Regions from separate parts of the Homo sapiens genome. Here regions 2, 3, 4, 5, 6 and 7 are each linked to region 1. The links are contacts of gene promoters, found by promoter capture Hi-C in blood cells and fetal thymus (Javierre and others, 2016). All regions are on one chromosome and are shown on one strand. The core of a region is centred on a gene start or on the middle of the fragment in contact, and the rest is flanking DNA. Distances in the headings are between cores, read along the strand shown. Region 1 holds the start of EPHB6 (EPH receptor B6). Region 2 holds the start of TAS2R38 (taste 2 receptor member 38). Region 3 holds the start of LOC105375547 (a long non-coding RNA gene). Region 4 overlaps EPHA1-AS1 (EPHA1 antisense RNA 1). Region 5 has its middle 37 kb from the start of PRSS58. Region 6 holds the start of EPHA1-AS1 (EPHA1 antisense RNA 1). Region 7 has its middle 53 kb from the start of PRSS58.

Region 1 (3,892 bases), core at 539-3,038:
TATGAGGTATATCATGAAATAGAAAAGAAGGCAGATATTTTTACTGTTATGTCAATACAGGATACGTTGCAAATTACTACAGGAATTTCTGGGTTTTATAAAGTAACAACTACGGTTTGGTTTTGTCCATATTTTTATTTTAACATAATCTAGTTATGTGTCTTTTTTTTAAGTTTTCAATATAACCATAGATGTCTAGCAATCAGGCATGTTAATGTATGAGTTACGTAATTCCACACACAATGCAAATTCTGTTTCTTTGCAGAAGTCTTTGAAAGCCTTGGAGATAACCAGAAAATGAAGGAAGCCCTCCACCACTGAGTTTCAGGGCAAAGGGAAGAAACAAGATAAAGTAGAACCGTCAGTACAAGTGGAATTATTAATGACGTCCAAATGCAGTCATTAAATACTATCAGACTTATTTATTGACTCCTGATATTAAGAGTGAACAAACCCCTGGCCAAGTGGGAACTTGCTCGGTAGCCTTTATCTTTCTATCACTCATTCAGTCAATTCATTAAAGCCTGTTTGTCTCTCCCAGGTGACTCTTACTGAGTTTCATTGTTTTGTTTATTGTGTTTGTTGGCTCATAGATCTCTTTCACAATTTTCTTCGGCTTCTGAATGCTCTTTAAGTACCAGTTTTGATCAGCCCATTTGCTTTAATAAACAGGAGAGCAAGATGGGACAGGGCGATACAGGGAGAAAAGGGGGCAAAGGGAATCGCACCGGGTGCTTGTGCTCCCTAGAAAAACCAGCAGGTGGTAGCAACACTTCGTGGCAAGGCCCCAGCCCAGCTCTGTAGGACCCAAACAATAGACCCCAAATCCCCGTCCTCGGCTAGAGAAGGGGTTAGAGGTGGGCGGAAACACTTTTCCTCGCGGCGCCCCCTCGGTTCCTCAACCCTGCCTCCAGGCGCCAGCTGAGAGCACCTTGCACCGCCCCTCCTCACTGCAGGGAGGTTCTCTCCGGAGCGCGGGCGAGGGAGGAGGCACCCAGAGGTGCAGCGACTTGCCCAAGCCATGTCAGAGCCAGGCGTACAGCAGCGCTTCCCCTTTTCAACCCGACTGCCCTGCCCCTTGGGGAGGGTAGATGGAGGGAGGTTCGACTCAGAAGCCCCAACGTTGACCAAGATCCAGACACGAAAAGAGAAAAGAGTTCCCGGCTAGCACGGCGACGCTTTCATACCGAGACGCCCCCCTCTCCCGCTGCCTCGGCTCCCCCTACCACCGCCCGTACTCTCCCAGATTTCTCAGTTTGTCTTTCCCTCCACCCCCTGCTTTTCCTTCCTTCTCTCTTGCTCAGCTCACGCCCACCTTAGTTCCAAGCTGAGTAGGAGCCCCACTGTTTTAGTTCCTAGAGTTAAAGCCGAAGAGGAGGGAGGCGCGAGGGGGTGTGTGCAGGGCTCTGCCCTGCCCTGAACTGCCACGGTCCGCCAGTTGCGCTTCGCTCCGCGGGTGTCCGACCCAAGCCGAGCCCGAGCCCGAGCCCAGGCAGGGGCTTTACAGACAGCCTCTTCCCTTCCCACTTCCTGCAGGCGCCCCACGCGTGCGATCCTCCCGGCCAAGACCCGCGGGAGGAGGCCGCCCCCTTCCCGGCGCACAGGCGGGGCCCCGGGCGCGCCCCGCGTCTCCCCCGCGCGCCGGGGCGGAGGAGCGGGCGCCGCGCACTCACCGCCTAGGCCGGGAGGGCGGGCTCGGCTCCCCGGAAGAAGGGAGTGGGAAGGCGGCCAAAGGGGCTGAAGGGGCGGGCCGGGCCGGCTTGGGAGGGGACGCGGAGGGGGCGGGCCGGGCTGCGTTCGCTCCAGCCGCGGCTCTACAGCAGCGGGCGGCGGGACCCGGGACCCAGCTTGGCGACGGCGATCTCGACGCGGGCCCCCAGGATCTCCCGGCGCCCCACCTCTGGAGCAGCCCCTGCCGCCAGCGTCAGGTCCACCCCGGAATCCCAGGGACTCTCGGCGCCGAACGGACCCGGGCCGGGTGCAACGGGGTCCCCGGACTGGAGAAGACGCGGGTGGCACCGTGCGAGCTCCAGGAGCCCCGGGTCCACTGCGAGGCCTCGGGGGGCGCAGACCTGCAGAGACTGCGGCCAACGGGAAGGTGAGCCCGCGGGGTTAGCAGGCGGCGTTGTGGGGGTCGGGGACAGTATGCTTGGGGACAGAGGAATTAAGGTTTGCAAGAGTAGTGGGGCTCCTCAGCCCCTAGGTGGCTTCCTGAGGGAGTACTGAGGATCCTTCCTCAAGGCCAGAGTGGGGTTCATGAAGGGTGAGGAAACGGTCAACCTGGCTACTCCCCTCTCACTCCACTCTGACCTGGCATCATTGACACCGCATTACCCTTGCTGTTAGGATCCCCCAGTTGCGTTCCCAGACATTCTCCTCTGGCTCTGGCTTGGGAGTCCTAATCTGGGAGGGTCCTCGCAGAGACGGAGCTCCACGCTTGGAACAGGATTGCCACCCCTCTGACTCCAGTGGCATCACTCCAATCCCCTTGGAGCTGGGAGGAGTCAGGAGGCTGACCACACACCTGTCCCCTGCTCCCCACAAGGCACTGTCCCCCCCAGCTCCATGACCACAGTTAAGCCTTGGAGGTGGAAGGAACGCTTGGTTCCTGCTGCCCAGCCATCACCCCCAACGTGCAACCAAATTCTATTGCGTGCTCCTGCCCCAGCTCCACCCTCGCTCTGCTCCCTCCATCTGGGTGCTTGGCCCTGCTTGCCCCACACCCCCACCCACCGATCTTGGCCGTCTGGCACCCTCTCTCCTCCCATCCCTGGGGGAGCTGGCATGGACCCAGCATAGCAATGTTGTAATGTCCCTGGCAGCGCCCATGGAGCGGAGCTGCTGGGTCTGTTCCCAGTTAACCCAGGCCCTCCGCCCGCCAGGGGAACTTGACTGAGGCTCTAGGAGGGGAGATGCTGGTCCTGAGCTGAGAGACCAGTGGGAGGGAGCTGTGTGGGGCTGTTAGTAGACCACAGAAGCTGCCCAAGTAAGGGGCATTGGAGCATTGAGGCTTCTGAGTGCTGCTCAGTGGGGCCACTTGGCTTTTCAGAGCAGTGGGCCTTTTTTCTCAAAGGAAGATTAGCGTGGGGGTGTCTATGTACTTACCTGGTGGCCTCAGAAGGAGGACTTGTTTGGAGTCTATTACTCCATTCAGGGTGCAAAAAGATGGTTGGCAATGACACTGAGTTACCAGAATGCTGGGGAGCAACAGGCTGGGGTGGGCTGAGCATGGGAAAGGCAGGATCCTCCTTCTGGGACGGCTGTTCTGCTATCACTCTGTCCTGAGCCTGGGCCCTAGACCCTGAGTTCCCACTCTAGGTAGAAGGAGGATGGCAGGTTCTGGAGGGTTTGGGAAGCCTCAGGTTTCCCTTTCTTTACCCACTCCTCCCCGCCCCCCACTTGGCTCCCTCTCCCAGCCCAGGTGTTTCTGCAGAAGTACCTCCTGGGGCCAAGAGCAACTCACAGCCAGACTGGGGGTAGAGCAGGGGCCGAAGGTGAGGAAGAAGGGCCCATGGAACCACTCCGGAACCAGCACTGATGTGCATCTTCTGCCACAGGAAAGCAACAGCCCCCATCTACACAGACAGCATCTGCTCCCGCCCACCTCATCTCATACACATTCCCTTACACACTCCACCAGGTAGACACACATCCTCAGGCACTGCTGACGCAGGTGCTACTCCTGGCACTCAGGGGCTTTCTTCCACAACCTTCCACTTACTCATCTCTCAGGCACATTTGCCTCCTGCCTTAACACCCTCCCTTATGCTCTTTTCCAGAGCCACGCATGTCCCCGGTCAGTGCACAGAGTGGCTCATTCTAAGTGGCTGTCTGGCTAGACCTAGACACTGCCTGCATCTTAAAAGCCTCCCCCAGCTCCACAGCCTGGGAG
Region 2 (3,892 bases), core at 617-3,116, 880 kb before region 1:
TGATTTTGGTAGGGTCTCCAACCAGAGAGACCAATACTTGGTACCAGGCAAAGCACCATCTTCAAAGGCAAATTGGGCATAGCCAGAAAGCCCACACAGGGCACCTACTGGCATCCAGGTCACCTACTGAGCAAATATCTGCTTCTCTTCCATCATTATAGAGTAGGTAAAAGTGCATTTCTGGATCAGTGTATTTTCAGACAAAACGACCCCTATCCTCTCGTGCCTCTTGAAGTTGAAGTTATGTGGTACCTCTTGAAGCTGGAATTATGACATAATTATCATTCCAAGTTTGTCTTTGTTTCCATGAAAATTGCGAAGTTTGAAGAGGATTATATCCTTATTGTAGTAGTGAATATTTCCAAAAATGATGCTAGCACAAGTTCCGAGAAAGAGGTTTAACAGTCATGTTAAAAGCCAAACATATTATCTTGGGATTTAGATATTATTTCAGAAGAGATGATTTCTCATGGTTTGATTTATACCAATAATAAGCTATAGTATATAAAGGATTTACACCAAATACTTAATTATTTTGTTCATTTTATCAAAACAAACCTAGGGTACCAACATTATTCTTGCCTAGGCCATGTATAGTGCTTAATTATTTTATTCATCTATAAGTGAGTTCATTGATACAAAGTGGAGAGACTTTCAATTGTGTTTTATAGAAGAAATTGGAAGGCTTTGTGAGGAATCAGAGTTGTATTCCTGAAGAATCAGAGGCATATTTATGAAGACTCACAGGCGTATTAATGAAGAGCTCATTTCATGTCCATTCTCAGCACAGTGTCCGGGAATCTGCCTTGTGGTCGGCTCTTACCTTCAGGCTGCTCTGAGCCCAGAGCAGAATGGTCATCACAGCTCTCCTCAACTTGGCATTGCCTGAGATCAGGATGGCTGCATGCCCAGAGGGACAAGCTGCCATTATCCCAACACAAACCATCACCCCTATTTTGTCGCGCCACAGAATCAGTAGGGGCACAGAGATGAAGGCAGCACAGGATGATATCACAAAGAAGCAGAAAAAGGAGACAAGAGACTTGAGGGCTTTAATGTGGGCCTCCAGGCTGGGGTCACGAGAGTTTCTGGTATAGACCTTCATTGTCCTCATGTGCCTTCCCAGGGAGACAGTCAGCATCCCAGAAGAAACCAGAAACAATAGGAAAGGAGGCACAGACCACAGATAGCAGAAGAGAAAGGAATAAAATAAATTGAGATCTTTAATCTGCCAGTTGAGCCTTGTATTGTTATTCATGAATAGCACAGTTGTGACTGTGAAGTGAGGTCTGCTAAAAAAGCACCAAACACAGAGGACAGTGCAGATGCAGGAGCAAAGAATAATACCCAGGAGCATCTGGGAGATCTTCCTGGAGACCCAGCTTGCCAAGCAGATCAGGAAGGTGTGAGAGAAACGGATGAGCTTGGAGCAGTAAAGCAGGCTGAGGCAGGCAGCAAGCCAGAGGTTGGCTTGGTTTGCAATCATCCATAGCATGATGATGGCTTGGTAGCTGTGGTTCAGTGGTTCACTCAACTTCTGGAAGTGGGTAAGCTGGATAGCACTCAGGAACAGCAGTCCATGCAGGAAAAGCCGGCTGATGCTGAGACACAGCAGCACACAATCACTGTTGCTCAGTGCCTGCCTCTTCACTACATCCCAAAAATTCACCAAGAAAACGAAGGCATTGGTCAGAAACCCCACTGCAAACTCCAGGACTGAAATGAACAGAAATGTACTCCTGACTTCATAGGACACAGTGCGGATGCGAGTTAGAGTCAACATGATGTCACTTCTCTAATTGGCTATTCTACTTCTCTTCTCTAGTTGGCTAATCTAAAGACCTGGTTGCCACCCAGTGCAGAAAGGTAAATGTACGTTCCAAGCCAGGACCTTTCCTTCACAAAGCATCCAGCTCTTTGCCTAGATCTATCCCAAAGCGAGCGCATAAAAAGTTCTGGCAGGAAACTTAGAGGGATGTTGTTTCTCTAGAACATCTCTTGGATACACGTAAGAGCTTATCATAGGGTGGAAGACTGATGGTTCTACCTCTTGGGTGATGCAAGATTAATAAATCCAGGTGTTCCTGTACAACCGCCTTCCCAGAAGGCCATAGCACAGCATCACGGATGCAAACAAAACAGGGCCTCAATTTCCCCAATCCAGTTTTGCATGCCCATCTGGACCTGTGGGGGTGGCGAAGAGAACAGGATTTGCTTATGGGTTTTGAGGCACCCTGCAGCAGGCAAAGCAGATATTCTTGGTGATCTAAGGTTTGAAATAGAGTCTCTTTTCATTTGCATTCCTTCTCTCATCTGTGAAGTAATGACTCTTATCACAGACTGTGTTTTTAATATAGATAAATGCATGGTTCCTTTCCATGTGTCAGTGTATGATTGCAGTTTTATTTGCTGTTGCCAAAGGTTTCATGCAATCATCATTATTATGCCAGGCACTGTGCCTGGCAAGGAGAATATTAACATGAACAAGACTAGCACGCTGTCATGAAGGGAGAGGAAAGGGGGCATAGCTGGTTTGGATTATTATTATGTTTATTTTTTAATTAGTATAAGTTCTGGGGTACATGTGCAGAACATGCAGGCTTGTTACATAGGCATACACCTGCCATGGTGGTTCGCTGCACCCATCAACCCGTTATCTATATTAGGTATTTCTCCTAATGGTCTCCTTCCCCTTGCCCCCTACCCCCTGACAGGCCCTGGTGTTTGATGTTCCCCTCCCTGTGTCCATGTGTTCTCATTGTTCAACTGCCACTTATGAGTGAATTTCCCCCGATAAATCCTTTAAGAGTTATTGGTGCTGCCCCATTGGTGTTTTTCGATACTTTCTCTTTGTATTTTTTATGTTTTCTTTTGACTAAAGCTCCTTTTTTATTATTAGTAGTGACATAAGTCAGTGATTACTAAAGATGTTCACTTTTGTTTTATTCTGAACTGTTCATACGCAGATATTTATGTAGTCCTTATTTGTGCATCATGATGTAGCAGTTGTATTTAATTAATTGTGTTTGTGACCACTTCATTTGGGTCATTCATGCTTACAGAGTGTCAAACACAGAATTCTGCACTTTCAACTTAAGCTAATTTTCTCCTTGTCTTCACCACACCAGGTGGCGGTGTTGCACTAAAGGTGTTTAGAAAAGATGTTTGCCTCCCTAAAAAGTCTAGGTAGAAACTTGCTCTACTGCACAAGCAGAGATATATAACTATACAGTTAGAACCATTTATATCAAGATTATAATCTTTTATTAAAAAATAAAGTTCTTTATGTTATTTCTTGGAACACCAGATCCAATCTTAATTTTTCAATAATCAAGGGCTCTTTCAGAGAAAGGTAACACAAACCTTCATTGATACACCCCCTCCATTTGACTTATGTACACACAGTGTTTGGGATTATCTAAGTAATCTCCTTTGCAGATAGTCCTTAGCTATTGGCTATTTTTTGAAAAATGGTTTACTCAGGAAGCTAAAAACAGTAAAGTCAACTGCAATGCCAGTAAGAGCAGTGGTAGGAACACAAAAGCTCCTTATTTGTTATTAGTAGTGATATAAGTCAGTGACTACATCTTTATCAGATGTAATTAAAAAAATCTTAGTCCCTGGATTTTGCAACTAAACAGATGTTAAAAATTCTTAACCTATATAAATTGGTGTTTCGACTTTTGCTGCCATTTATTTTTGGAGATTGGAATTACATTCTTTGGATTGATTTTTAAAAATTGGTCTTTGTTAGCTTGACAGAAGAACACTATTATTAGTAATATCAAACCTCATTCCCTTAAAATACCTTGCTTAGATGTTTCCAATGACTAGAGAAATGGACATACCAATATATGTTTATTAAGAGCAAAATATATTCCACCTGTTGTAA
Region 3 (3,892 bases), core at 738-3,237, 640 kb after region 1:
TCTTCTAGGGTCCACTAAGTCCAGACAGGAATCCTCTCACATCCTTTTCATTTCTCCCACAAGTCCAGATAAAGCTGAAGTCCTTGAAACCAATATCTACTAATCCCCTGCTGGTGTGCCAGGGTCTGTGCCAGGCATTGGTTACCTGCTGGTAAGTAAGAAAGATAGAAACACGGGCCCTTGCTTTCTTGATTCTTATAATTTATCTAGGGACACAGAGATTACATCAATAATTACAAATAATTAATTAAGTATAATTGTGCTAAGTGCTATGAAGGAGAAGAACAAGGTTAGTATTTGGCTAATTAAATTTGGAGCTTTGTAATTAAATTATGACAGTAGTTATGCCTTACTCCTTAATAACATGCAATTTATATAGTGAGTTTCAGGCATTTATTTAGATGTTTAAACAAATGATTAACAAAGTAATGTTGTGATGCAAGCGTTCGAAAACCAATGATACTCATGTATTACTACTGAGTATGAGGTGATAGAAACCCACAGAATCTTTTCAAACAGAGTGAATTCTCCCTTGTCAGCCAAGGTTGTACCAGTTCATCTCCCTTCTACCATGCTGACTGGTCCTCTTGAAAAATAAAATTAAGTGCCATCACTTTTTCTTAATATAAATATAATCTCCAGATGTATTTCCTGCTCTTAAAAAATTTAATTAACAAACTGATTCATTTATTAAAACATTATTGAGTATATCAGGCACTATGCTTTCAACCAACCTCTAGGAAATTCCACCTTTCAATGTTAGGGATTTGTGTTTAGAAAATCAGCAGTGCCAGAGGATCAAATAATAAATTTTTAAAAATGGATTTTGGTCAAATCTGAGAATCTAATGAGAGCATGTTTGTGCAAGCCACTACAGCCAGAGGACAAATGCCATACATCTGCATTAAGAAAATGAGAGCAGAACCACAGAATAAAATGCAAGAAAGCTGAAATGCATAATTCAATTTATGTTTCTTCTGGCTGGAAACATTGGTGGAGGGAGAGAGCAGAGAGGACCTGGATGGAGCTGGCATCTTGTCTCCATTCAGCCCTGGTCCTGCAGTGGCCAGAAGGTGTCACTGTAGAAACTGCTAAGAATAGAAACTGGCCTTGGGTTCTCAAGGTTGGAGATCAGGTTCTAGGGTCAGAGCCAGGGGCTGGAATTTTGACTGCTGCCCTAGGGAGATGGTTCCCTTGTATCAGCAGAAGTAGATCAATGCTGATCTACTATGATCAGTATGCTGCTTGTTACTATAGACAGAATCTTCACCTTCAGAGTTGGCCTCAAGGATTGAGATACCCTCCAGAAGGTAACCACAACTGTTTAAAATGAAAAGAAATATAGGGGCTAAGTGTTTCATTCCTTTCATTTTATAAACAAGGAAACCAAGGAATAGGGCTACGGTGATTTGCCCAGGTCTCAGATCTACCTGGAGACTAAGCTGGAACAAGGGTCAGGGCTGCCCTGCACATCTAGCTCTACCCAAGCCCATGAGTGAAGGGTGGGAAGGAGTTCTGAAAAGCTGTAGTCTAGGAAGGGAGGCACCTGAGGAACCTCAGATGGGAAGCTCAGGACAGCCATCTATCCTTGAAGAGAAAGACATGTGGTGTGGGGGTAAAGCTTTAAATAAGTCAAGGGGTCTGAGTTTGAGTTTGCCTCTTCCATTAGTCTGCTATGTGCAACTTACTAGACCTCTATGAGCCTCAGTTTCTTCATTTGAAATGCATGAATAATAATAATGCTTATCTCACAACATTTTAAGTAAGATCAGATGAACAAATGAATATGAATGTGCTTTGTAAAGTATAAGTAAACGTAAGTGGCTGTTACTATGCTCAACAAGTCCAAATTACAGAGGTAAAGTCTACCCAGTGCCATGGGGACAAGAAACAATAGAATATGTGCTATAAACGTCAGAAAGTTTTCAGAATGTGGGTCATAAAGCCCCTTGAAATGCATTATATTGCTTAAACCACCTAATTACAGAGACCCTGTTAAATATAGTGAAGAATCAAAGTAGAGGGTTCACCTGTACTCAGTGAGTAGGTAGTACATGCTCTGCACACAGTGTGAACTTAGTACTATTTTATTCCAATACATTTTGGTGATGTTTTTAGATGATGAAAAACTATTTTTATTGATAGATGGCCTCGTTCTTAGCTTTTTGGGACAGAGAATTTTATTCCACTTTTCTCACCTTGGTAAACATGTACTGAGCACTGTTCAGCGCCTGGTCCAGTGGAAGGTATTGGGATAACAAATCAATCAGTCTGGTCTCCTGCTTAGGAACTCAGCCTGCAGGGAGAATAGAAAGAGTGAGTCATCATGACCTTATCAGGGGAGTTTTCAGAGGAAGCTTGATGAAGACATCTGGTAAGAGGAGACATAGAGTCTGGCTATGTAATCAGCTCAGCAGATCTGTAGAAATAATAAAGTAGAAACAAAAAACAAAACAAAACAAAAACAAGAAATAGTGCTCTTGCCTCTTAAAAAAGTAGATGAGGTTTAAGGTATGCTAAGATTCATATAAGGAGGCCTGGGCTTCAAGCTGTATCAGGAAACCATCTACGTATCCATTGGGTACATTGCTACATTTTAAAGCCACAGTTTCTTCATCTACAGAATGAGCAAGTTAGATTAGGTACATTAAGATTTCTTCCAGCTCTAAAGATTTGTGATAAGTGAATATACATAATCTGTGGTTTAAAGTAGTATAGAAGGGAAAAATAGATCCTTTGGTGTTTGATTGCTCTAAGCATGCATAGCTAGTGGGACTGTAGGCAATGAGATATGAATTAGTGGGTTTTGGGTTCAAAGGATTCAGATCTCACACATAGCTGATTGGGGAGGTGTCAATGAACGGGACTAATTGACTCAAAACCAGAGACTAAGGAAACGGGGAAGAGGACTACACCAGTAGAAATGGCAAAACTACTTGGGCCAAGGCTGAAAGGCTGGTAGCCTTCTGATACGTAAGCCTCCTTCCTAAGCACTGCAAAAGAAACTACCATCAGAGTGAACAGGCAACGTACAGAATGGGAGAAAGTTTTTGCAATCTACTCATCTGACAAAGGGCTAATATCCAGAATCTATAATGAACTCAAACAAATTTACAAGAAAAAAACAAACAACCCCATCAAAAAGTGGGCGAAGGATATGAACAGACACTTCTCACCATCTTCTTTATCAAGAAAAGATGAAGGTCTATGTCTATCTTTGGTTCTTATACCAATCCAAGCCCTTCTCCATTCCTTCTTATCTCCAACAGAATAGAAATGCCTCAAGGCCAAGAAAAGAGTCATCTCCCTTTTGACTTCCATTCTTTAGTTTTTAAAATGTATATCTACATATACTGAGCACTTCAGTTTATGCTGTTGATTTGGTGACTGACAAGAACTAGGACTCTATCAAGTGGCTTGAAAACACTGATTTATATCATCTAGGTCACGGGAGGAATTCAAAGAGCCTCCAACTACAACCAGTGAGAAAAACAGTGGAGGATCACAAAACAGTCCCGGGTGCTCCCAGGAATTTGGGCTTTATCCTCCTACCACCTCCTCTTAGCCTTCCTTGTGGGTGACTCACCAAGGCTGAGTGCTCACTTCATGCACAGGACATTTTGAATGTGGAGATGTACATCTCTTAGAAAGTCCTTGATACAGTTGTTCATCCTCTTCTTCGTGATGCAGGCTTTACTTTGTCAGTATTAGCTGATAACTTTTCAGAATTTAGGCATCCCCAGAGGGAAATTACTTGCTCTTGGTGTGTTTCTTACTCATTCTTCCCCACAGCTACTTCTCTGCAACCACAGCTCCCTCCTCTACTAAGTTCCCTGTGGAATACATATTCTAAAAACATTTTATTTCAACTTTTAATTGTCCTTCTAGTTCC
Region 4 (3,892 bases), core at 482-2,981, 580 kb after region 1:
GGGAAGAACGTTTGATTTATTCCTTTAGAGATTAATTTTATTGCTTCTAAATGCTCGAATGGAGCAAGGCAAAGAGAAAGATTCATTCTAAAGATCTTTTAGTTGAAATAGAATTGGACTCAACTTCCTTGCAGGCTAACTTTATAATTACAAAAATAACTATCAAATGCTATTTTTTATTTGAGAGGAAAGTCTGTAGATTTACCTGAATATTAAACGATATTCAACTGTACATTCACATTTTGATAATGGAAGATGTTAGAAATTCCCAAATTTACTTTCAGAAAGCTAAAATTCTCTATTATGCCGGATTGCTATTACAGCCAATGTTTATTCTAAATTACTTACTTAAATATAAGAGTCAGAGGAAGTCTTCAGGGTGAGAAAAAATATTTAGGGCTTATCTTGCAGGGAAATCATTATTAAATTTGTGCATAGTTTAGCTTAACATTTATGTGCAGTCTAGCCATTAAAAACATTGTTATTTCCTTTTTCCTCCACCTTTCCCTGGAGTGGGCCATCAGTTACCCGATAAAGCCATGGAAATACGTGGAAGTATTTATGCAATGCACGTCACTCAAAGGTTCAGTTGGGAATGGGCACCAAGATTGAGAAACCTGTCAAATGAAATGTATTTTTGTATGTCTCTAAGATGAACCAAGAATTCATTCTCTAAGAATTCAAGAATGTATTCTTGAATGTGATAAGAAAAAGAAAATAAAAACAAAAAACAAACGAATCAACAGAAACCAAAAAGCACTTTACTGGTGTAGAGGACTAACGTGAGGGAAGTGCCAGTAGCTCTTTGCAGAATCTTCCATTTTAATCCAGTCTTCTGCTGTTACCTGTTTACCATTACTACCATTTCACAGAAGACTCAGACTTCATCCTAAAAAACTATCTCCAGTCATGCTGCAGAAAATAATTCGTTAGCTTCAGCTGCAGGAATGAGACACCTTTAAAAAAGAGAAATGTGACCCAAACTTTTGTGAGAAACACCTTGTATTTTGATTGCTATTTCACATTCGAAGGACTCTTGAAAAACAGAAAAAACCTAAAACATCATCTTGCTTATGGTATCTTTTGGTGGCAGACTATGAATGGGACATGGGACCCCCATAAGATATATCTAGTGAAGCACTGAGAGATGGATAAACAGGTGCCTGCGGGAAAGGTACTCTTTCAGCCTTCTTATAGAAGAGTATTGAAACAGGAGAAAATGTTTACTTTCTAGAGCTATCAACTGTAGAAAGGAAAAGTCCTGGGGAAGACTTGTTCTGGCAAAGTGCACGCTTTGGCACCTCTGCAGAGAACATGAAGTTTGCCCGCAAACATTAGATGTCTACTTGGTTACACGTGACCGCAACAGGGCGTGTGTACCATGGCCTCAGCTCGCTTCTTGATGACATCATGAATCTGGGCTCCGGCCAAAGGATTTTGAGACGAGCCAAAATGCTGTGGAGCATGCAGAAGCCACTCATTGCTGTTGTCTTCAAGAAGCCAGAGGAAGACATGCAAAGAATTAAAGAAAGACGCTGAAGCTGTGTTACAAAACAGTTGATCAGGTTGAATTATCCGCTCTCTAACAATCTTTTGAGAGTTCAATAAAAACTAGCAGCTCTTCAATTAGCCGGGCGTGGTGGCGGGCGCCTGTAGTCCCAGCTACTCCGGAGGCTGAGGCAGGAGAATGGCGTGAACCCGGGAGGTGGAGCTTGCAGTGAGCCAAGATCAAACCACTGCACTCCAGCCTGGGCGACAGAGCGAGACTCCGTCTCAAAACAAACAAACAAACAAACAAACAAGCAGCTCTTCAAGCAATTGCTATATTCGAGAGCTGAACCTCTTTTTCTTGAAGTCGCCACCACAAGTGTTTGTCCTTGTTTTTATTTCTCTTTAATCTTTCACACACAGGCCTCTCTCACCTGTAGAATCTTGAGTGAGACCATGGGAAGTAGGCAAGGCTATTTTCTGTGACTCATCTTGGTGGAGAGCCCTGACTCCAAGATCTGAGACATTTGCCAGGGGATTCCCTTCCCTGTTTTTCTATCCACACCTCTGCTTTCTTCTACCCTCCTTCTCTCTCTTCCCTCTTAACCCTTTTGTTTTTACTTTTTCCACATTCATAGGCATTCTTTCCTCAGTTGAACCTGTCCTCATGGCTCCCTGAGCCTGGGTTGGCTGATCTGAACCAGTGTCATTTTGTGTGGTTGGCGGTAAAGGCCAAATGTAAGATGTGTGAAATCACTTTAAAAATGACAAGGTGGGGCCCTATGCAGTGGCTCACACCTGTAATCCAAGCACTTTGGGAGGCCAAGGCGGGCAGATCACAAGGTCAAGAGATCAAGATCATCCTGGCCAACATGATGAAACCCCTTCTCTACTAAAAATCCAAAAATTAGCGGGGCATGGTGGCACATGCCTGTAGTCCCAGCTACTTGGGAGGCTGAGGCAGGAGAGTTGCTTGAACCCGGGAGGCAGAGGTTGCAGTGAGCCGAGATCACATCACCGCACTCCAGCCTGGCGACAGAGTGAGACTGTCAAAAAAAAAAAAAAAAAAAAAGACAAGGTGTTTCAGCAGGGTGGTTTTTACTATTATATATTCAGTATTGTTATAGGACAGGGCTCACTCCACATAAAGCAAAACTTCCCTGTGGCCCAGCTTTGCCCTGAGCTCCTCTTGTCATTCCACCAACTCTTGCTTCCCCCAGCTCCTATGGTGATGTCCCCTCTGGGTCAGTTTCCCTTCTCTGTCTTTCTCGTCTTCTCATTATGATTTATCTACTCTCTCTCATTTCCTCAGAGGCTTCTTAGGAACTGATTACTTTTGGTTGATCAAGCACTCTGGAGCCAAGGGGATAACAGTTAACAGATGATGGTAACATATCAGAGAAATCCACATTTTAACTGGAGATTCCATGAACTCCAATATGGAGCTTGACAGTGAAATTTTAGGCAGCATGAGAGGCCAGTGGTTAGGGGGCCTTTTCTTGGTAATGTGAAGCCTTGTGCATGCGAATGATTTTTCTGTTCCACCCATTCGGGAAGTGAGCTAAGGCAGTGTATAGAGGCTACTGAATAAAATATTAAGGCAGGACGTGAAGGGAAGGTTTTTGGTTTGGGGAGGGCAATAAGAGTAACAATGTCTTTTAAAGAAGAGTTAGGAAAGAAATAGTACAGTTAAGACATCATGTACAAAATGTGGGTATTTTCAGTCACCCCAGCAGCCTCTATTCTGTTAATGTTTCTCTGCATCTGGCTCTGAGAAAGGACAGGCAAATACAGGTTATGCAAATAGAGATGGTGTCATTGAGCTGGGAGTGATTTGCATGCCAAAGGAGATTGCAGAAATTATCTTTTCAAATTCTGGGGACTGGGGGTGTTTGCTGGTGGCTGGGATTTTCTATGAATCCAGGGACAAGGGCTTCTGAGTCTCTGGTGTCAACAAGGTGGCTTGACTCAGCCAGAGAGGCTGTTTTTCCCTGAAGATGTGTCCCAGCCCTCTGCAGTAGGAGCTGAGACTTAGCAGAACCTCCCTGGAGAAGATGCCCTCCTTGCCCACGTTGATCTTCATAGCCATCTTTTGCCTGGAGTCATTGGCTGCAATGCTGCAGAATGGATTCTTGGTCACAATGCTGGGCAGGGAGTGGGTAAGGTGCCGGATGCTGTCCACAAGTGACATGATTGTGGCCTGTCTCGCTGCCTCCCGTTTCTGCCTGCATGGGGTAGCCATGGTGAACAACCTCCTGGCCTCCTTAGATTTTTCGCGTGCAGTTCCCTATATGAACATCTTCTGGGACCTTTTCAATGCCCTCACTTTGTGGTTTACTGCCTTGCTTGCTGCTTTCTACTGTGTGAAGATCTCATCTTTCTCCCACCCCACCTTCGCCTGGCT
Region 5 (3,892 bases), core at 384-2,883, 560 kb before region 1:
TTCTTGGACAATGATAACATAGCTGAAATTTTTAAAGTATTTACTATGTGTCCAGCACTGTGGAAGTGGATTACGTGCATCAACTCATTCAGTCTTCACAAGCAGCATCGTAAGTGTTAAACTACAAATTTCACCATTTAAGAGATGTGGAGAAAGAGGCTAAAAGAAGTCAAGTGAGTATATCAAAGTTTCATAGCTGTTAAGTGGCCAATCTATGGTTAAAACTTAAGCAGCCTCACTTCAGGGTTCATGCCCTCAACAGTGATGCCGTGAATATAATAAGAGAGAACAGGGCTGGGCGCAGTGGCTCAAGCCTATAATCCCAGCACTTTGGGAGGCCGAGGTGGGCAGATCACGAGGTCAGGAGATCAAGACCATCCTGGCCAACATGGTGAAACCCCGTCTCTACTAAAATACAAAAAAAAATAGCCAGGCATGGTGGCGGGCACCTGTAGTCCCAGCTAATCAGAAGGCTGAGGCAGCAGAATCGCTTGAACCTGGGGAGTGGAGGTTGCAGTGAGCCGAGATCACACCAACCAACTTTATCGATATTCCAAGACCTCTGGGAAACAGCAAGAGTATGATAGGAGACATCCAGACATTCATCAGGAGGATTCTTCATTTTTCAAGTATGGCAAATATTGTTGCTGAAGTTATTCATAAACATGCCTTCAGAGGGAAGTATGGGATTTACAGACCTCATCTGGTTAAGGACTACTCTTGACTTTCTTGATTTAATAGAGTTTTACTGTGATGACACAAAGCACTGTTAAACAGAGCTGCGTTACTCGAAGAATGAAATACTTTCAATACAACCAATGGATAAATTCTTCTCTCACTGTGCACATTACCTCTCTTGGCCTTTTTATAATCTAATTTCTTATCATTCATAATCAGTCCCTCAAATACTGACTCTCACCTGAGCTCTTCTCAGATCCAACTTCTACTGAACATGTCTGCTCCCATACCTAGGGTCAGCTAGTCTAGCGCTGAATTCATCATAGCTTTCTCTTTCTATATTTTCTGTCAGTGCAATGAAGCTACACACATATGGTTAGCCAAACTTGAAACACAGAAGTCACCCTTAACTTTTTTTTTTTTTTGACTGAGTTTCACTCTTATCACCCAGGCTGGAGTGCAAATGATGCGATCTCGGCCCACTGCAACCTCCTCCTCCTGGGTTCAAGCGATTCTCCTGCCTTAGCCTCCCAAGTAACTGGGATTACAGGCGTGTGCCACCATGCCGGGTTATTTTTGTATTTTTAGTAGAGATGGGATTTTGCCATGTTGGCCAGGCTGGTCTCGAACTCCTGACCTCAGGTGATCCACCTGCCTTGGGCTTCCAAAGTGCTGGGATTATAGGCCTAAGCTACCACACCTGGCCCACCCTTAACTTCTTTATCCACCTTGCTTACTACCTGTATTCAAAGTCTTGACGATTTTACCTGTCTTAAAGATCCTTGACTTTTCTTTGAAGATCCTTGATTTTCCTTTCAAGTCAACCACCTATGACTTGGTTCAGTATCACATTTTCTCTCCTGAATTATTGAAATCGTGCTAAAACCACTTCCTTGTTTGTGGCTTTATTCTCCTTCAACTCACTCTCCACATCAGAGTAATCTTTCTAAAATGCACATGGATCATTACATTTTCCGCTTAAAATGCTTTGGTGGCTCCACATTGACATCAGGATAAGTTTAAATTCCAGCACCAAAGTTCATGTTCTTGGACACTGTATGCTGTTTTAAACCTCTGTGCCTTCCCACACACCTTACCTGGTTAACTCCCATCATTCTTCAACTCTAATCGTGGAGAACTCTGAACTCCACCTGCATTCTCCAACTAAAGTCAGGCCTTCCTGAACTTTCTAGGCAGCTTTACTTTCATTACATTTACTTCCAGTCACATATTACTTGTATAAATATCTGCTTAATGTCTATTTTTTCCAGGTTGTTTAAAATTCCTGAGGGCATAAATGATGTCTGATTTGCTCACTATTACACCTCAAAGCCGGTATGTACGTGGCACATAGTAATTGCTCAGTGAATAACTGCTGAATGAATGAATGAGGTTACTTTCCCTCTTTGCTGGTGAACTTCTAGTCATCCATTAAATTTACCTGAAGTATCATCTCTATCTATAATTAATCTCTGACATTAACCTATGACCTCCCCTAACTCTACTGCCATAATGCCCCAATTGGTTAGATGCTAATCCGTTCTATTTCTTATCGGTGCCATTTTGAAACCCTGTGCATGTTGCTATTATAACTTTTGAATTTTGTTGCAGGCTTTGATTTCCTTTTCTCTTCAACTAGAATACGAGCTTCTGAAGAAAATATTGTATGTTAAAATTTCCAGTTTATGACACTGTCTCTGGCATAGAGTAGATGCTTAAGTTCTTCTGTTCTTCTTTGCCCCATTGGGCACTTAAGCCTTGTCCAAAACATCTTCACCAACAGTCATCCAGCCTCTATTCTGGACAGGAAACCACAGGACCTTCTGGAAACTTCTTCCTTCTGTCGAGCTGGAAAATCGTCTTGTTAGAGCTTTGACTCTTTTTCTCTCTGTCCTATAGCTTGGGGACATAGGATCAGGAGAGAGATAGTAAGAAGATAAGTAGACAACAAAGCGAAAAGAAGATTGTAGGTTCTAAAATAGTTAAAGATGAGTCAGATAAGTGAAAACTCCAGCCCAGCAAATATACATTTTTCTCTTTAGGTAGCAGTTACAAATTGTGAAAGGAAATCAAAAAAGTGTCTCCCTGTTACTGGGAAATAGCATGCCAGGTAGTAGTAGTCAAAGCTAATGCTGGCTTCTTTGTAGACAATTCAGCAGAAATAGTTTCTTAGAAAAAAAATACTTGGAACAGGATTAGATAGATTGCCCTAAGATCTGGCTTAGAGTACTCTCCTTCAAAAAACCTTCTCCAATTGCATCAATCCCCAACTGATAATTGGTTTTCTATATAGTCTATGAATGCTGATGAGAATAGTTTGGGCCCGATTATTTGATGGTCAGTCAAATATCATATAGTGATTTTAAAAAGTTATTTCTTCTCAATATTGGCTCAGTCACACCATCTAGAATATTCACACACACTGAAAACCAAGATGAATAACCTGTAGTTTTTTTTTATTTGTATGGATTTATTTCCCCCTTTCACATGGTACCCATTGCAATCAGGGTCCTTCTATATATTTGTAAACCCGGACAAATCAAGTACAAACAAGCTCATTAGCTGCAACCACCACCCTGTACACTAAGAAGATCTTCCTGAAAGGTCCTGAGGTCTTCCCTGATCATCGCCCATGTCAGATGCCTCAAGTTATGCAATAAACACACAGCGACATGAAATACAGAGGACTAACGTGCATTTCTTTGTATCTGTGTAGAAGGGAGGCCTGTTGGAAGGTGACAGAGACCATGCAGCATGTGGAAGGTGTCTCCCCAAAAGTGGGGTGGAGTCAAAAGGGGATGAGGAAAGCAGCCTCCTGCAGATTGTGGAAGCCCCAGCAGACTGCAAAGGGCACCGCGTGGGGCAAGGCATCCCTCGTGTGGTGTGTCAGAAATTGGACTGAGGTGAGGAGAGTTTCAACATGGGTGGTCTCCATGGCACAGGAAGTCAGAACTTGAACGGAGAGAGGAGGCCATTTACAAAGGAGAGATGATGGCAGCCACAGCACACATTTAGTTACCTGTAAAGGGACTAATCAAATATGTAAATCTATAAGGATAACAGAACCATGTTTCTCAGTTATTGGATAAGAGAGTTGCAAATATGGAAAGAGAAAACACTAGAACACAAGAACATAAGAATAAACCTTATAATACGGGATTGGAACTAGTGTGAACTCATCGCTTCTCAATATGTATAGACAGGAATTAAAGAT
Region 6 (3,892 bases), core at 472-2,971, 550 kb after region 1:
CCCTGAAGTGACAAATGTCTTTTTATATGCTAGTGAGCTGACTGCCGGGGATGGGAACTAGACTGGGGTGGGGGAGGCCTGGGTGGCAGAAGGCAACCTTGTGATTGGAGTTGGGACTTTCGGCCCCACCCCCAACTTCCAGGGAAGGTAGAGAGGTTGAAGGTTGAGCTGATAACCAGTGGGCAATGATCTAATTAATCACGCCTATGTAATGAAGTCTCCATAAAAGCCCAGAAGGATGGGGTTGGGAGGGCTTCTGGATGGCCATACATGATTAGGTCCCTGCAGGGTGGCTCGCCTCCTTCACATATACCTTGCCCCATGCAGCTATTCCATCTGGTGTTCATGGTACCATTTGTAATAACCGTTATAGTAAGCCAGTAAATCCAAGTCAATGTTTCCCTGAGTTCTGTGAGCCATCCTAGCAAACTAATTGAACCCGAGGAGGAGGGTCAGGTAAACCTGATTACAGCCGATGGAACAGAAGTATAGGTGACAACATGTTACTTGTGATTGTTGTCTAGAGGAGGGCAGTCTTGTGGGGCTGAGCCCTCAACCTGAGGCTATCTCCAGGTAGATAGTGTAAGAACTGAATAAGATTAGAGGACACTCAGCTACTGTCCACTGAAGAATCTGCCAGAGAGAACTGACTGCAGGCGGGAGGAATCCCTACACGCATTTTGGTGACCACAGGTCACCGAAGTGATTTGTGTTGAGAGTGCAGTAGGAAAAAACTGAGTTTGGTTTTTTGTACATCATAAGAGCTGCTCTCTGCATTTGAGTCTGAATATGCTCTCTCAGACCCACCTCACAACCTGTTCACTGAGTCTTAGGAACATCCAAGGAAGGAAGGGAACTGGAACAAGCTCTGACACTTTCAAACAGCTGGAATGCATGGTGTGCACGCAGTCAGCCTGAGGAGGTGTGGAGGATGAGCTAAGGGCTCAGAAACCTTTAGGGGAGCAGCTTTTAACTTCGGAGGAGTCAAAGACCCTTTGAAGAATTTGATGAAAGCTTTGGCTGGTCTCTCCAGAAAAAAAAATGCCCGCTTACATATACAGAATTTAGAGTACACTTTCATGGGGTTTCCCCACCCCCTGAAACCTATCAATGCAACTTCATTGGGATGAATGGATCTCAGATTGAGGATGCTTTTCTGCCTTTTCTATCCCTCCCCAAGCAAAGCACTGGTCTCAGCCTTCAACCATCCCCAGCATGGTGCATTCTCTCCCCGGGTATGTGAGCTCCTCTCCCCCTCACAAGTATCAGCTTGTATTCACAATATTCCCAAGTATTCACTGGAGGAGCCAGGCCATTCAAGCGTTCATCTTGAGGTGAAGTCTGACCCCCCCACCCCTTGTCCCATTGAGGAGGCTCTGACTCAGCCTCCTCTCCCCCTCCCTGAGGAGACACTTCCAGTTTTTCCTGCTCTTTTCTCTGTTCCTCCACCCACCTCTCCACCCCATTTCCCACTGGCCTTCAGGAGTTTTCCAAGATCCTTCCCTCTTCCGACACTTACCCCATCTTTTGGGGGATCCAGCAGCCAGCCCAGCTCTCCCTGTGCCTTGCTTGTGTCCATCAGAGTAACTGAAAGTGGGGAGAAAAGAAGTCTGTCACCTCTGGGGGAGGAGGTGCCCCTGCAGCCCACATTAATCATTCTGGGGCCTCAGCCCCAGGCTGCAACATCCTGTTCCTAAAAGCTGTGACTTCCTGAGGCTTAGGGGAGAAAAAGGGCTCAGGACTGAGGAGTGAAGAGCTCCAGGGATTTCACTCTTCTTTGTGTGTGTGAAGGAAGGCAGGTAGAGTGGGACAAGGGTTGGGGCGCTGGGTCTTTGACCAAAGTCAATGCAAGAAGAGCAGCCCCACGAGACGCTCAGTTACCCAGGCTGCTGCGTCCTGGGACACCCATCAGCTGCAGGATTGGAACGCGTGGAGGGCAGGAGGAGCTCACCTCTGCTAGCCAGGAGTGGGCAGGGTGGACCGGGGACCTCAGAAGGGGTTTCCTGGGTAGGGAGGCTCACCTCCACTGTCCGAAGCCTGCTTTGGCCTGACCTGGCCAGTGATCAGAGCCGTGAAGTGGGGATAAGAGGCACAGCTACCTGCCTGGGAAGTGGGGGGGAGTAAGGCCGGAGAGGGTGTTCCAACTTTCACATGGAATATTCGACTCGGACAACTGGGAACCCCTGTGGCGTCAGTCCTAACCCTTCTCCCGGAGGCAGCTCCCTCTGTCCCTGGCCTAGGTTGGCAGGAGGCGACTTCCCACCTTCAACTTCCAAGGGCTCAGATCTCTGGGGTGGGCACCTGAAGCTGGGACTGTCTGGGAATGCAGGCAGGGGTGCGGGTGCAGGTGCTACTTCCTGGCAAGGGTCCGGAATTCCCTCCCCACTCCCAGGAGCAGATTGCTGGCCTGCGGGAGTGGGGGTGACTGACCCGGGAGAGCAGCCGCTTGGGGTTAAAGACCAAAGATGGGCCTGGCCAGTCGATAGCCTGGCGGTCGGGCACAGCGAGAGAGCTGGCGAGGGTCTCGGGGAACATGGCCCCTAGGAATGCCGGCTTCTGCAGGGGGGTGCTGGCCGGGCCCCGGGAAGGGGCGGGGCGCGGGGGTTGGGGGCGCGGGGGCGGGGGTCGGTACCTTCCTTGGCGCGCGCCCCCGGGGGCAGCGGGGCGCAGAGCAGCAGCACCAGCCCTAGCCCCAGGGGCCAGCGCCGCTCCATAGCTCCGGGCCGGGACCTGGGACAGTGGCCCGGATGGCAGCGCCAGGTTGCAAGGGACTAGGAGAGCCGGGCGGGCCGGGCGGGGGCGGGGGGCGGGGCCAGCGCCGGGGGCGGAGTCCCGGCCTCACCTGGTTCACCTCCTTAAAGGGACAGTAGGGCAGGAAAGAAACTTGCTAGACTGGTAATCAAATTCAAGAACCGGAGGCGTCTTGACCCGAATGAGACTGCGGGCGCCGCCTAGTAGGTGGGATTAAGAATTGACGAACCTTTTCCCAATTCTAATCCTAAACTCAACCCAATCTTGATCCAGCTTTTAACCTAATTCTACCTCTGACTTGAATTACACTCCTATATTCCTCTTTCTGTCTTTGTGCAGGCCCCAGAGCTGGGTAATAGGGCCGGGGAAGGCAAGGGGTAAGAGTCATATCTTCACCCTCTAGCAGGGGAGGCTTAGATGACCACAATGCAAGGTGGGGTACAACCTGCAGTGAAGCATCTGGAGATTAGAAGAGGAAGCAAGCCCAGTCATCGGGGCACATTAGTTGAGTCTTCAGGGAGAGCTGGTGTGACCTGGGTTTTCAGTGGCAGAGATTGGGAAAGGCACCAGCAAGGGCCTGAAGGCAGGGAGCCTCAAGGTGCGCCCAGGGAGTGGTGAATGGACCAGTTTGACTGCTGGGGCGCAGGATTTGTCTTGGGAATCAGGGCAGAAAGGCAGGTGTGGGCCAGGGCTGGGTAAACAAGAAAAGGAGTTTGAACCTTGACATGCACTTACACAGCAGACATGAATATCTGGTTAAGGTTCCAGCCACAGGTGGCAGGGAAGGATATTTTAACCCATCTTAGTGGTGTCAAACCACGTGCCCTCTCACTTTCTTGCGGACTTCCTTATATTCTTTTTCTTTTTTGAGATGGAGTCTCGCTCTGTGGCCCAGGCTGCAGTGCAGTGGTGCAATCTTGGCTCACTGCAACCTCCGCCTCCCTGGTTCAAACGATCCTCCTGCCTCAGCCTCCCGAGTAACTGGGATCACAAGCGTCAAGCGTGCACCACCACACCCAGCTAATTTTTCTATTTTTAGTAGAGACGGGGTTTCACCATGTTGGCCAGCCTGGTGTCGAACTCCTGACCTTAGGTGATCCCTCCTGATCTCAAGTGATCTCCCTGCCTCTGCCTCCCAAAG
Region 7 (3,892 bases), core at 553-3,052, 540 kb before region 1:
TCACTTAAATCTTCACATCAATTCCCTGGAGCTTGGTGACTCTGCTGTGTATTTCTGTGCCAGCAGCCAAGACACAGCCCTGCAAAGTCACTGCATCCCTGTGCACAAACCTCCCGGCTCAGCCAGGAAGCTGCAGGGCAGCGTGTGCACCTGCACCCAGGGCTCCAGTCTCCATTCCCTGATGGCCTCTGATGGAGTTTCAGTCTGTAGTACAGCCAGCTAGTGCACCCAGTGGAGAAGTCCTCCATCTTATGCACACAAAAGTCTCACAGAATTGTTTATCAGCTAGAGCAGGGCTTCACAACAAAGCCACTAAAGTATTAGGGCTCCACAAACAAAAAAGAGCCTGTCCTATGCACTGATGATCTTAACTGATGGGGGAAGCTCTTTCTTTTCTTTCTGTGTGGCACATATTGGTACGTATTTTATATAACATTATGAAAAAAACACGATTGCTGAAAATGGTTGATGAGCACAAGCATAAAGGAGGGGGAAGGAAATATTTCCAAGATCAAGAGACAATTCTGATGATCAGTGAGTACTTTATTCAACAGAAAAATATTTGGAGAGGCATGAAATTCCATGGCAATAGGTAAACTGGAAAGTGTTGAGGAGATGCCGGTGGAGGTAGCCTTGTGCGTTGTGGGCTCCTTCTCTTCAAGAAGGGTGACCAGCAAGTGTCTCTCCCAATTCTGATGAATATCATCTTGAACTGTCCTCAAGAGCAGGCAATAGCCAGATGACTGGGGATATTGGGAGACCTGAAAGGACTTTGGACACAAATCTCTAGGCAGTGGTGAGCCATTGGTCCTACTCCAAGTGAAACAACATGATGAAACTGATATTTTGGTAGAGGAACACTGGTAGTAGTATGGATCAGAAAGGAGATAGATTTTTGGGTGGCATGAATGATTAGGAGACTTCTAAATATCCTACATGAAAGATTAGAAAGGGTTGATGTGAAGCATTGTGGACAATATAGGCTTGAGGCTCTGCATTATGTTATTTCTTGGAAATGTATTGGGTTTTATTCTGGGAGGGTTGAATGTAGGACTTGCTAGGGTCTATTTCAGCCTTGCCCTCCCTCTTAGGGAGCCCCAGCATGTGGTCATCATTGCTAGTGCATGGCCTTTCCAGGGTCTTAGTGGGAATCACAGTCACCCACCACGACTCTCCACTCTCACTGGGTCTGAATGCCATTGCCTTCCTGCCCTGGGTATCCTCTGAAATCCCTGCCCGTGTCTACAGCCTTCCAGAGTTTGTTCTCTGCTGGGCCTTCGGGAGTGCCACCCTCTGCATACACAACTTAGGACCTGGCCCAGAAAGAAAAATAAAAAATGAAAAAAGATTTTCTTACACAGGTTCTCAGGGCTCCTTGGTAGTACTCTGTGTCCTAAATCCCAGCTGTCTTGGAGTCAGTTATGTCCTCTTATCTTCAATCACATATACTACTTCTATTTTATATAAATATGTTTACTTGGCTTTTCTTCATATTTACCATTCCACTCTTCACTCTTCTTGCAATTCACATGGTCCTGAGATCATTTTCCTTCTTAGATCCATCCCTAATTCAGACCACTTGAACTCGCTGGTCACCACCCCTTGTTGTGGGAAATGCTTATGTTAGCTGTTGTCCTCAGGACAATTAAACCTTTCGCTTTCACCATTATTCAAGTTTTCAGTTTAAATTCTATTGCTTTTTTTAAATTGTCTTTGCAATTTGGTTTACTTATTGAGAGCCAAACAATGCAATAAAATTTTATTCGTTCAAATTTGTTCTACTTTGTAGAAGGGCCAAAGTGTTTTCTTGCTGAAGTAGATACCAATGGAAACAATTTTAATGGTAATAATACTAGTGTTTAAAATAAGGCTAATTTTAGGTTTTTGTCTAGTGAATAGAATATCTCCAACTGTAGCAGGATAGAGATCGATCCTATATGTAACCTGTTGAGGGGGAGAATACTCAACCCCATTAAATTCTAATCTACATGCTTTACATTTTTTGTTTGTTTGTTTTATGGGCCACATTGAAAATCTGATGAAATTTTTGCATTAGAAGAATGCTACAATTTTCCTCCTGACTGAGAACATCCCCAGGTTAAAACAAATCTAAATTATAAATCCTTGACTTAAATCATGGATAAGTATCTTCCCTCAGCCCCATGTAGATTTACATATAACATAGATTTACGACCCTAATCTCATGCCTACAATTATAATTATCATCATGAAAAGGTAACACTGATGTAATACAACAATAAATAGATGGTAAAAATCACTTTGAAAGTATGAATCATCTCATTTTTGTGTTTATTTGTGTTCATTTGTATCTCCAAATGCTCTAGAATGAAAAGCCAATATTGGCATAAAAGTACCTTTTAAGAAAATTGATGATATTCCAATTCTTAACTGGTCACAAAGCATAAATAGCTTATGCAGTGAAGTACAGAAGACCCATAGGAAGTCATCCAGCTGGTTCCTAGTTGGAAAGTTCTCCACAGAACTGATGAACTAATGTGGTTTCTAACATCTTAGAAATGGCAGGGCTTTAGAGATCATCTCATTTCAGTTCTCCTGATTTAATATATGAGGAAATATGGCATCACATATATGAAGTGATTGAACAATGACATACTGATTACATTTCTCAAACTTTATGTAAGATATATTTTTATTCTCTAGTTGTTTTCTGAATATGTTGAATTGCCTTACACAAATAGAATTCTGGGGGTGAAAATGTTGGTGATTTTCTGCTTGCTCCTAGCTGTTGCTCAAGGAGTATTTGTTGAACAAGTCAGACTGGCCCAAGAACTCAAGAGGGCTGGGATACTGTCTGTTCTGCACATTACTAGAGATCCAGGCATAGACAATTTTCTGTTCTTTTTTCTTTTCTTTATTTCATTTCATTTCATTTCTTTTCCTTTTTTTTTTTTCTTTTGAGGGGTGTGGTGGGAGCAGGGTCTTGCTCTGTCTGGAGTGCAGTGACACAATCATGGCTCACTACAGCCTTGACTTCCATGGCTCAAGCAATCCTCCCACTTCAGCCTCTTGAATAGCTGGGACTACACACAGGCACCACTACATTCCGCTAATTTTTGTAGAGATAAGGTGTTGCCATGGTGCCCAGACACAGACATAGACAATTTCTGTTGAGTAAAAATTTAGAATGTCTTATGTGTGTGGATACCTGGCGTTCTGGCTGCTGACTCTCTGTGTTGTTGCCAACACCTCCTTCGTCTTCATTCTCCCCTGGCCTTTCAAACCCTTCTCTGCTGCTCAGGGTTGTGAGATGTGGAACCCATCTGGATGCTGACACTGGGTCGGTGAGTGGCCAAATACTGTTTTGGCCACAGGCAGGAGCTGTGCTCTGGTGAAACCTCTAAGGCAGGGACCTGGGGAAGGGATAGAGAATAAGAGGAGAGATGGGCCAGGAGGGATCTTGCCCATGGGGAGCCAACCGTACCTCAACTGAGAGCATGGCTGTACTCAGCTCAAGCACACTAACATCAGCTTCAAGCTGATTTCCCTTTCCTTTGCTCCACACACCTTGTGTTGTTCTTTTTCAGCATCCTGTGTATGTTAGCTCTAAGCCCAGCCAAGCCCCATGCCCTCCACTTCAGGGACAGAGGGTGGCTCATCCCTTTTGTGCTCCCTCAGCTCCCTCCCCAGTGCCTGGTGGCTGGTTGGCAACACAGTCATGCCCTTGAATGATGGGAGCTGGTGCACACTGCATCCGTGTTCATGCAGTCACCCTCCCTCCACAGAGCCGGGCAGAAAGGGCTCCACCACACTTAGACATTGAGGGAAGGGACGTTTTGAATGGCACTGTTTTATGTGATCCCGCAGGACAGAAGGAGATTTCTTGAATGGGAGTGGTCTGTTGTTGAGAGGG

The links. Contacts are between HindIII fragments. The CHiCAGO score rates a contact against its expected background, and 5 or more counts as called.
Region 2: a contact is called between the fragment with the promoter of TAS2R38 here and the fragment with the promoter of EPHB6 in region 1, in 2 of 17 cell types (fetal thymus and naive CD4 T cells). The highest score is 7.3, in fetal thymus.
Region 3: a contact is called between a fragment that was not itself captured here and the fragment with the promoter of EPHB6 in region 1, in 1 of 17 cell types (monocytes). The highest score is 6.2, in monocytes.
Region 4: a fragment that was not itself captured here is called in contact with the fragment with the promoter of EPHB6 in region 1 in 1 of 17 cell types (neutrophils); the score reaches 5.9 in neutrophils.
Region 5: a fragment that was not itself captured here is called in contact with the fragment with the promoter of EPHB6 in region 1 in 5 of 17 cell types (fetal thymus, activated CD4 T cells, non-activated CD4 T cells and 2 more); the score reaches 9.9 in fetal thymus.
Region 6: the fragment with the promoter of EPHA1-AS1 here is called in contact with the fragment with the promoter of EPHB6 in region 1 in 2 of 17 cell types (neutrophils and non-activated CD4 T cells); the score reaches 13.6 in neutrophils.
Region 7: a fragment that was not itself captured here is called in contact with the fragment with the promoter of EPHB6 in region 1 in 6 of 17 cell types (fetal thymus, non-activated CD4 T cells, naive CD4 T cells and 3 more); the score reaches 16.3 in fetal thymus.

What each region holds. Positions count from the first base shown.
Region 1 is chr7:142,853,288-142,857,179 of GRCh38, forward strand. It overlaps EPHB6 (EPH receptor B6), which reads left to right and starts at 1,789. Exons shown (of 20, transcript NM_004445.6): 1 at 1,789-2,098. The HindIII fragment of the contact is 5,828 bases long and covers 1-3,892 here.
Region 2 is chr7:141,971,907-141,975,798 of GRCh38, forward strand. It overlaps TAS2R38 (taste 2 receptor member 38), which reads right to left and starts at 1,867. Exons shown (of 1, transcript NM_176817.5): 1 at 725-1,867. The coding sequence starts at 1,783. The coding sequence ends at 782. The HindIII fragment of the contact is 7,298 bases long and covers 1-3,892 here.
Region 3 is chr7:143,489,828-143,493,719 of GRCh38, forward strand. The region is part of intron 2 of EPHA1-AS1 (EPHA1 antisense RNA 1); the gene reads left to right. It overlaps LOC105375547 (a long non-coding RNA gene), which reads left to right and starts at 3,150. Exons shown (of 2, transcript XR_928075.3): 1 at 3,150-3,892. RefSeq lists a silencer at 2,149-2,443. The HindIII fragment of the contact is 736 bases long and covers 1,620-2,355 here.
Region 4 is chr7:143,433,493-143,437,384 of GRCh38, forward strand. The region is part of intron 2 of EPHA1-AS1 (EPHA1 antisense RNA 1); the gene reads left to right. It also overlaps the pseudogene TAS2R62P. Among named protein-coding and RNA genes, the nearest start is that of TAS2R60, 8.0 kb to the right of the region's middle. The HindIII fragment of the contact is 6,221 bases long and covers 1-3,892 here.
Region 5 is chr7:142,292,698-142,296,589 of GRCh38, forward strand. No RefSeq gene overlaps it. Among named protein-coding and RNA genes, the nearest start is that of PRSS58, 37 kb to the left of the region's middle. The HindIII fragment of the contact is 5,747 bases long and covers 1-3,892 here.
Region 6 is chr7:143,406,092-143,409,983 of GRCh38, forward strand. It overlaps EPHA1-AS1 (EPHA1 antisense RNA 1), which reads left to right and starts at 1,722. Exons shown (of 5, transcript NR_033897.1): 1 at 1,722-1,795. It overlaps EPHA1 (EPH receptor A1), which reads right to left and starts at 2,765. Exons shown (of 18, transcript NM_005232.5): 1 at 2,633-2,765; 2 at 1,520-1,587. The coding sequence starts at 2,714. RefSeq lists an enhancer at 2,837-3,449. The HindIII fragment of the contact is 7,900 bases long and covers 1,013-3,892 here.
Region 7 is chr7:142,308,977-142,312,868 of GRCh38, forward strand. It overlaps TRB and TRBV3-1. Among named protein-coding and RNA genes, the nearest start is that of PRSS58, 53 kb to the left of the region's middle. The HindIII fragment of the contact is 5,998 bases long and covers 1-3,892 here.